Linked DNA regions of Homo sapiens: all the other regions are linked to region 2. Evidence: promoter capture Hi-C in 16 types of primary human blood cells and fetal thymus (Javierre and others, 2016). All regions are on one chromosome and are shown on one strand. The core of a region is centred on a gene start or on the middle of the fragment in contact, and the rest is flanking DNA. Distances in the headings are between cores, read along the strand shown.

Region 1 (3,120 bases), core at 331-2,830, 220 kb before region 2:
GGAGAGCTTGGCTAGAACAATGCTACATTATACATTATATTTCTTAGGTTGATTTTTTAAAGACGGAGAGAAGGTTACACTAACAACTCACTTGTCCCTGGCTGTCATTTCACATTTTTAACTGCCCTCTTTTCCTGGCCCTGGCCCAAGTCTTACGCAGCCTGGCTTCACATGGAAGGAACCTGAAAAAAAAAAAAAAGAGAGAGAGAGATGGAGTAACACGTACATCCTGCATTACATTCTTCCTTTCCTGAATCTCATCTCAATTCTCAACATTGACCCCCCTCAACCTGTTTGAACTTCTCAAGAGGATTGATAGTACTCACTTTTTTATAGTTTCTTAGTATTTTGATAGTATGCCTTTTATCCTTTTAAAAAACCCAACACACACAGAATATAAGAAGAAAGATTTTTATCGTGTTTAGTTGTGACATCTCAGATCCTCCCATTTGAGTGCAATCTATTTTTCTATAGAGAAATATAAACAAACTTTATTTACTTTTAAACGTCTGTTGATCATTTTGGTTTAGTTTCTTTGGGGACTGTTTCTTGTATACTAGGTATCTAAAAATCCTTATATTGTATGTAGTCTTAGTTTGATTATTGTAATCACAACTATGTCACCCAGTTCCAAAGGGGGGGAAAAAAGTTTGAACAAATTAAATCAGAACACATGCCCATTATTAAAAAAATCAATTCTTGGTACAAGCAGTTTCTTGCCCCCTTCCCAGGTCCTACTCCTCACAGGCAACCACTTTCAAGTTGTTGGTTTTTTAAAAGAATTTTTGATTTTGCAATAATTTTAGATGAACAGACAAGTTGCAAAGATACTACATAAAGTCATTACTCTATATCCTTTCTACTTCCCCTAATGTTAAAACCTTACATAACCATGTTATATTTATCAAACCTAAGAAATTGGCATTGGTATAACATTAATGACTAACTGTAGATTTTATTCATGTTACTTTTTTTTTTTTTGGACACAGGGTCTCACTCTGTACGCCAGGCTGGAGTGCAGCCTGGAGTCAGCCGATCTCGGCTCACAAAAACCTCTGCCCCCTGGGCTCAAGAGATTCGCCTCAGGCTCCCGGAGTAGCTGGGACTACAGGCGCGAACCCCGGGTACTTGGGAGGCTGAGGCACGAGAACCGCGTGGACCGGGAAGACGGAGGCTGCAGTGAGCCAAGATTGAGCCACTGTGCTTCAGCCTGGGGTACAGAGTGAGACCCTGTCTAAAAAAAAAAAAAAAAAAAAAAAGGCTGGGGAGCGGGGCAAGGCGGTGGGAGAACCTGATCCTTACCAAAGTTTGACACTACTGCGTTAGCGTTAAAAAAAAAAACCCAGCTAAGACTGTAGAGCAAATTAAAGGATCCTGAGTTGAGGGCGTTCTCTTGTTTAGTCAAAGGAGATGGTATCTGCCTGCCTTAGTGTGCTTGACGCACAGAAAGGGCTCAACACATTGTTGTTGAATAAAAGAATGGATAAATTGACACTGGGAAGTTGGAGTCCAAAGTTAATCTTAGTCTCAACTGCTCCCTGATTTCATAGACCAGACTCCAGCCTACAATACAGGAAAAATAGATATAGTTCTATATGTGCAGAGAAGCACAAATAATTTTCGTAAATGTAGATACCTAGGATAAAAGGCAGTGTTGACCGATCGAAAAGTCTTTCTCTAAGAATTCAAACATAATTGCTGGTTGGTTCAAATCAGGAGGAAAAGTAAGGACGGAAAACACATATTGTCAGGAGTGGGATTCGAACCCACGCCTCCAGGGGAGACTGCGACCTGAACGCAGCGCCTTAGACCGCTCGGCCATCCTGACACATGTTTTACCATGCTTCCTAATTTCTCCTAATTTTATCATATACTGATGGTGCACGCTATCAGGTCACATTAATGTGTCTATTTACTGTTTCAAATAAAATTGTAACTCTCTCTAGACCTTGTCGCAAAGCGGGAAAAATGAAACAGGCTCCGACAGCTCTTTCCTCTTTCCTCACTACCCAAACTAATCCTTAAGGCTCCATTTTCCCTGGCGACTCTTCGAGCGCCCCTCTGCTTCTGTAGAGGGGTCGAGCCATGTCAAGGTAGACCCTGTGTCGGCCCGTCTCCCTCGGATCCTCCGCACCAATCACTGTTGCTGAATCCGACACCCGGCGGATCCAGTGCGGAGTCTCGAACAGCTGCGGAGCTGGGAGCTACGGGACATGAAGAGAGCGGGGTGGAAGAGAAGACGGCGGAGGAAAATCCCCCGGCGATGCTCAACTGCGGCTTTCTCTCTCGGCTGTGAGCCGGCTCCGCCCTCCAGCTTCCAGAGCCGGTGGCTTCTGCGTTCACCGCCCCGCGCCGTTTGCGGGGCGGGGCTGATTCATAAGAATCGGTTCTCACCAATGGAGGGCTTAGCTTGTTTAACCTCAGGATCATAAACAAAAGACACTGCTAGAACGGTCGGGAAAGTCATACGCTTTGCTTATCTTATATATAGATATCTAAAACTCCAAACCGGGTACGCGTTGGTGGTATAGTGGTGAGCATAGCTGCCTTCCAAGCAGTTGACCCGGGTTCGATTCCCGGCCAACGCAAGGGTTTTTGTCTTTCCTTCTACGAAAAACCTTTCTCAGTCAGAACCTATAACGCGCTGTGTATCCGTTTTACGCCTCAACGAAGTATCCGTTTTACGCTTCAACGAAACTGCAGCAATACCTCACTTTCCGTACTCGCTTCCTGTCTTTCCCCTGGCCTCTTTCTAAACCCAGGCGTTTTTTGAAGGGATTAAATTCTGATGGTTCTTTCCTCCCTTCCTTCCTTTGTAAACTTCCAACTCTTGAGGAATCTTTGGGATCATTTCAATCCTGGGATGAGTCTTAGCTTCAGAAAGGGGCTCTTGTGTCTTCACTTGCGAGGTTCATTCGCTAGCCACGCACTATTGAGCACGTGAACTTGGCTAGTTTCTCTAAGAAACTGCATTTTCAAATTTAGTCTTAGTAAATAAATCAATTGAAATAAAATTAATAAGTGAAAATTTTAAAATGGATACTTAATAACTCAACCATTGGAGAAGGTTTCAGTGCATTTGAAACAACGTGGCTATTGAATCTACTTTTTCAATTGTAA
Region 2 (3,219 bases), core at 625-3,124:
ACCCACGCTTTGTGCTTGCCTAGAGACATACCCACATCGGCAGAAGATAAGGGAAGTTGCACAGACAGATTTATTCATAAGAGAAGTTACTCAAACAACTATAGAGATGAGAGGAGTTTCTTATAATAGGTTTTGAATTCAGCTGTAAAAATGGCACCCCACTTGGGCTCCCCTCTCTGCTGTGGAGAGCTTTCTTCTTTTGCTTATTAAACTTTTGCTTCAACCTCACTCTTTGTGCCCATGCTCCTTAGTTTTCTCGGTCGTTAGACAAGTTCGGATAACACCTTAGACAATGAGACCATTAACCCTTACCTGTTTCAACATTTTTATCAAATCCAAGGCCATGAAGCTTTCCCCCTATGTTTTCTACTAAGAATGTTATATTTTTAGGTCTTTAATCTATTTGGAGTTATTTTTTGTGTATGGTCCAAGGTAAAGGTCCATCTTCATTCTTTTGCATGTGGATATCTAGTTTTTCCCAACACTGTTGAGGAGATTGTCCTTTTTCCATTGTGTGGTCTTGGCACTCTTTTTGAAGATTATTCTAACATATATGCAGTGTTGCAGGTGATTAGCAGCTTTCTGGGCTGGTGACATGGGTGGTAGGAAGAATTTACCAACACAGTTGTAGGTAAAGAAAGGCAGGTTTATTAGATAAAGTATGAAAATACATTGCAAGGGTGCAACAGGCAGGTCAGCAAGAGAGAAGCTGACTGCTAGGAAACAAAGGCTTGCTGGGGATTTTGTAGAATGGTGCTTATGTTGTGGGTGGAAGAGGGCTTTGTGCAGTACTAATAATGCCAGGGTTGCAGTGAACTAACTTCCATTTTTCTATCAGCTGAGGGTCTGGTGATGGCTGGGCACAGGCAGATTGTGAGTTATTTGCACAGCAGGGCTATGTGTCCTGGACCACGAAGAAAGGCAGACTTATGGCTTGTCTGCTTTCTCCTTTTGCTTCCCTTCGTCCAGCCAGCCTGACTCCTTTTCCCTAATTAGGACTCCACACGCAAGGGTTTGTTCTGTTCCAGAATAGAGACACGTCGATGTATCTATCTTTATACCAGTACTATAGCTGCTACTTCTTGACCAATTACAGCTTTAGTATCTCTCTCACCTGTCCTCCCTATACAAAAGATATATAAAATATACTCACTGTACTGAGTATCTTCCTGCAGCATTCAGTCTGGAGCAAAGCCTGCTTCCTTCAACCCTTTCCAAAATCCCCAAATAAAAGCCCAAAATCTGTAGAGGATCTTCCTAACATCCTCGTGCTGAGATGCCCTGAAATTCTCCATAACTCATGACTGAGTAATAAAACCAACTTGCTTAATTAAAGTTGGTTTCTTGTAGTCCTGGCCGGAGGACATTGACTTACAAAAATATAGGATTAGTATCTTCAAAATAAATAGACAGTAAACATCAACAAGGATTCACACCCCAATAATGAAATTGGGCAGAAAAAGGAAAAATAATCATGAAATGCACAGTAAAGATGGCTCCATAATATTGAAAAAAATTTTACTTCAAATGCATAAAATGATGCTTCTGATTCAGCTGGTGCGACATTTATTTCACATTTGAGTTCAGCTGCTCCTGATGTCTCTTTCCTGAAAATTTCAATACTAAGAGCTCGAGAAACCCTGTATTTGGGGAAGCTTATCCTTCACCATCAACTTTGGGGGTAGGGGTCAGAGGGAACAAGGGTGGAAAGGCCGCGCTGAATGGGGCCGAAGCTCCGCCCCTCAGCGATAAGTCCAGATTCCTGCGGCCGACGTGGTCCTCCGAGGGAGCAGCAGAGCCGCCGAGGCTGGCGAGTCCCAGGGGAAGGATGTTCTAGCCGGAGTCTACTCGATGGTAGGGCAGGAAGCCGCCTTGTCTCTGGGCGCGGCCATGTTGGAGGCTCCGGGCCCGAGTGATGGCTGCGAGCTCAGCAACCCCAGCGCCAGCAGAGTCAGCTGTGCCGGGCAGATGCTGGAAGTGCAGCCAGGATTGTATTTCGGTGGGGCCGCGGCCGTCGCGGAGCCAGATCACCTGAGGGAAGCGGGCATCACGGCCGTGCTAACAGTGGACTCGGAGGAGCCCAGCTTCAAGGCGGGGCCTGGGGTCGAGGATCTATGGCGCCTCTTCGTGCCAGCGCTGGACAAACCCGAGACGGACCTACTCAGCCATCTGGACCGGTGCGTGGCCTTCATCGGTCAGGCCCGCGCTGAGGGCCGTGCGGTGTTGGTGCACTGGTGAGTGGCCGGGTCAGTGGGTGACGTGCCCCGCCAAGCTTCCAGCCGGCCCCCGTCGCCCCTTACCTTCCGAGGCCGTCGGGAGGACAAGAGCGCGGTCATGCCGCGTGAACCTCCTCCCGCTGCCTCCCGCAGGAGGCGTGTTTCCAAGAGAGGAGGAGGGTTGAGGCGGGCCCCTGGTGTGTGCAGGCTTTCATTCATTCATGCTTTAGTTGGTTCTTCCTGCAGCAGCAGAGGGCGGGGGAGGTGTCATCTGATAAATGACAAATTACCTACACCCTAAGGAGTTTACAGCTCTGTTGGAGAAGCTAGACACCCACCCCGATTATTGTAATGCAGATTAGGTTGCTTGGTGTCTTGTAAACGGGATTTACAAAGATTTAGGGTTAAATGTTTTTGTTTGGGATGGGTGGCGGGTGGTTGATGAAGAGATGAATTGGTTTGGATCTAAAGGATCCCTGGGCTTTGCCTAGGGAGGAGATGGTTGCAGCAAAGACAAAAAGAAAATGGGAATCCCGCAGGGCGCGGTGGCTCACGCCTGTAATCCCAGCACTTTGGGAGGCAGGAGGATCACAAGGTGAGGAGTTCGAGATCAGGCTGGCTAATATGGTGAAACCAAAAATACAAAAATTAGCCGGGCGTGGTGGCTCTCGCCTGTAGTCCCAGCTACTCGGGAGGCTGAGGCAGGAGAATCACTTGAACCTGGGAGGCGGAGGTTGCAGTGAGCCGAGGTCATGCCACAGCACTCCAGCCTGGGCAACAGAGCGAGACTCCATCCCTCCCCCCAAAAAAAGAAAATGGGAATCCCTAAGCAGTTCTTGGTTGGATTGGAGTATAATAATCGTTTAAATTTATTGAGCACATAAAAGAAGATAGTGATGAAATCAAAAGAAGTCTGGGACCAGATTTTGAGGTCCCTGAATGCTAAGATGAAAGGAGATTGGATTTGTTTTTGTTTTGTTTTATTTATTTTTATTTTGATATA
Region 3 (2,869 bases), core at 151-2,650, 210 kb after region 2:
CACTTTTTAAATTGCTGGCAAAGCTATAATTAATCCCTAGGCACAATTGTAGTTTTTATTTTAATGTTTGTATGCACAAGGCCCTTTAGGAAATGAGAAGTTGCCATGCCAGATTAATTTTTTTTTTTTTTTTTGGTGGGATTGCCTTTTGGGGGTTGCAGCCAGAAATTGTGGGTAATGTGTGTATTTTTTTATTTATTAAATTTTAAACAGGATTGTGCAAGCTTATGAGACAATTAGATAAACTCATGGAGGAGGCAGGTCCTCCTGTTATTAGATGATTTTGTGCTCTTGGGGCTGACAATAATACACTCTTGGGAAGTGATGGTAGAGACTGATGGGAATAGTCTTTCTGCCTGGTTGCAAGTCCCAAATTTTTAAGGGTTAATGGAAGTAAGTGGATGTTTCCTCATGTTAACTACTGAATCAGATGTTAGGAGCTTGTCCCTTTGGGGTTGACTTATGCCCAGCAGTACAGGGACACAGCTTCATTAGAGTGTTAGTGTAAACTAACTCCAAAGTTAGGAGTTAATGTGAAAGGATCATCCTTGAAACAAATCTGCTGTTTGCCATGCTTGTAGTACAGAAACTTCACATGGAGTTTTGGGTGGGATTTGTGTTTTCACAAGTAAAAAATCCCTCACGATTATAAAACTCAGAGCATCATCTAATTTTTTTTTTTAATGACTACAAGTTCCAGCACAAAACTGGCATTTCTTTGCCATTTCTTGCCAGTAAGAAGTTGACACGGAGGTATTTGAAAGCAATGTTATGTGAGTCATTCTTAAGTGTTCCAAGTAAGTTTAGAAACAGAAAAGGAACTTGGGATTCAAATTGATTTTTCAAATCATTTTTAAAGAGACATCATCCTGACTAAATCTTAGCCTGAACCTTCCTCCCCTGTGTGTATTCCCCGGTAGTCACCGCAGCGAGATGCTGGTGAGACTGCCGTGGTGGCATTTAGCATCGTTAAAACTGGAAAACTCTCAAGCTCTTTGCCACTTTCCTACTATTTTTTGATTCTTGCCATTTTACCAAGCTTAGGTTGTGAAACTTGACAGAAATGTATTACAGGAAAAACTTATAATTGTATTTGACTTTCTAACACATTGCAAAGTTTCAAAGTGACTTTCACTTTCAACAACATATTAGAAGTAACCACTTTTGCTTTCACAGCCTGAAGAGTTAGAGCCTGATCTGATGCCCCCTTTCACTCTGAAGTCATGGGAAATTTTCCAGCCATGAAAGCCCTCTTTCCACTGCATACTGATGGGCTGACTCAGCTTCCTTCAGCCGACTGAGATCTTTTCATACTATTGGCTATTTCATACCAATTAACCTCTTAAATAAGATTGTGAATTGCCAAAATTGATAGACACTTATTACCACCTGTGGACTCCATATTCCTTACCACAAATGTTATTTTCATCAGTCCTGAGTCATTTTAACTTACAGAAATTAGGATTGTTGCTGCTAATATGAATACCAATTATAACTTTTAGAAACAAGAATAAAGCCTAAAAGAGAATGAAATATAAGAAATGTTCGTTCCCACCCCTAATAACATTTGGAAGTGAATATTCCCATTTTCTTCCACCCACAGGGATTGGGATTGATTTTTAATTTCCTAGGAAACAATACTAGACTACCCAAAAAGATGTTGCCAGAATCCAAAAGGAACTATGCTCGTAAAAGAAATGCAGTTTTCTCCTACCTAAAAAAAAGAAAGTAAAGTGTGTTCTGTTCTTATCTTTTTAATGACTAAGCTTTAAACAGTTTATTTTGGGTAAGACTAGAACTTTCGGCCATTTGTTCTAATATGTGTGTTATTAGATGCAATAGAATTTATGAAAAGAAGAATGACAAAGGTATCTGATTAGAAAATTTGATCTTACGCATGAATCCATGTCATGGCCAGCCACTGTCACATAGTGGGTGCCATTCTCAACATATTGGTTTGCTAACTTTAAGCATTAGGGATTTAGCACACTAAAATACTTTTAATTATATTAGGTTTGGTAACTAAGGAGTAAATAAATCATAATTTATCATTTGCCAAGGCCAACAAACAACACTATTGTGCTGTTTGCTCTCAATGAAGTTGAATAAACCAGGAGGCTTGGCATATCCCCTTTATGTTAATCCCAGCTAGAGATTAGTAGGTTGACTTTCACAGCAATTGTATATTGATCCATTTTAACTCATCCTTGCCATAATTTCCAGGCCAGTCACCAGGACAGAGGAGATGATGGGGAAACAGAGCTTTAGATGAAAACTACTATGCACTACTAGCCTTAGAGGCACTGGTTTCCTGTTACCACTTTGGCAAGTATGGATGGTCTAAGTCCAGTAGGGCTTCATCCATGGAGCCATTAGAACTGAGGGGGGAGTGTTAGAGATGCCATTTCACCAGGATCTTTTTGCTCAGGTTGTACCCATGCCAATTGAAGAACGTGTTAAAGATGAGGAGGAGAGATGTACCATTCTCTCCCTTAATAATGATGTTGGTTTGCAAAACCTAAAGAAATAATAACAACAGACTATTTCATACTTTCAAGCAAGTCTTTATACTACCTGTTATTTCTCTAAAATTCAAATAAAGAATTTTTAAACTTACCTTGTTTATTCTGTATGTAGAAAGAGAGAAAAAAGCCCCCAAATGAATCTTCAGTGTTGGGGGGTTAGTAATGGGAAAGGAAGCCTGAAAAGGCTTTGTGGCTTGTGTTACTGTTCAGATGAAACTGTTGAACTATTTTCCACTCTTCTCCCAAGCCTAATTAAGTAAAAATTTCCTTTATTTAAGTGTCCAGATATTTAAACTACAATCTTATCAAGGAAAAAAAAATCTAAAAACCCATATTTTATCTAT

Evidence for each region. Contacts are between HindIII fragments. The CHiCAGO score rates a contact against its expected background, and 5 or more counts as called.
Region 1: a contact is called between a fragment that was not itself captured here and the fragment with the promoter of DUSP12 in region 2, in 16 of 17 cell types (naive CD4 T cells, total CD8 T cells, total CD4 T cells and 13 more). The highest score is 17.7, in naive CD4 T cells.
Region 3: a contact is called between a fragment that was not itself captured here and the fragment with the promoter of DUSP12 in region 2, in 1 of 17 cell types (activated CD4 T cells). The highest score is 5.2, in activated CD4 T cells.

The regions. Positions count from the first base shown.
Region 1 is chr1:161,528,597-161,531,716 of GRCh38, forward strand. It overlaps TRL-CAG1-6 (tRNA-Leu (anticodon CAG) 1-6), which reads right to left and starts at 1,828; the gene lies at 1,746-1,828. It overlaps TRG-TCC2-6 (tRNA-Gly (anticodon TCC) 2-6), which reads left to right and starts at 2,517; the gene lies at 2,517-2,588. RefSeq lists a silencer at 2,482-2,541. The HindIII fragment of the contact is 5,205 bases long and covers 1-3,120 here.
Region 2 is chr1:161,747,912-161,751,130 of GRCh38, forward strand. It overlaps DUSP12 (dual specificity phosphatase 12), which reads left to right and starts at 1,875. Exons shown (of 6, transcript NM_007240.3): 1 at 1,875-2,234. The coding sequence starts at 1,891. RefSeq lists enhancers at 53-102, 1,674-2,183, 2,245-2,891. The HindIII fragment of the contact is 617 bases long and covers 1,654-2,270 here.
Region 3 is chr1:161,961,455-161,964,323 of GRCh38, forward strand. It overlaps ATF6 (activating transcription factor 6), which reads left to right. Exons shown (of 16, transcript NM_007348.4): 16 at 1-2,616. Among named protein-coding and RNA genes, the nearest start is that of OLFML2B, 61 kb to the right of the region's middle. The HindIII fragment of the contact is 727 bases long and covers 1,038-1,764 here.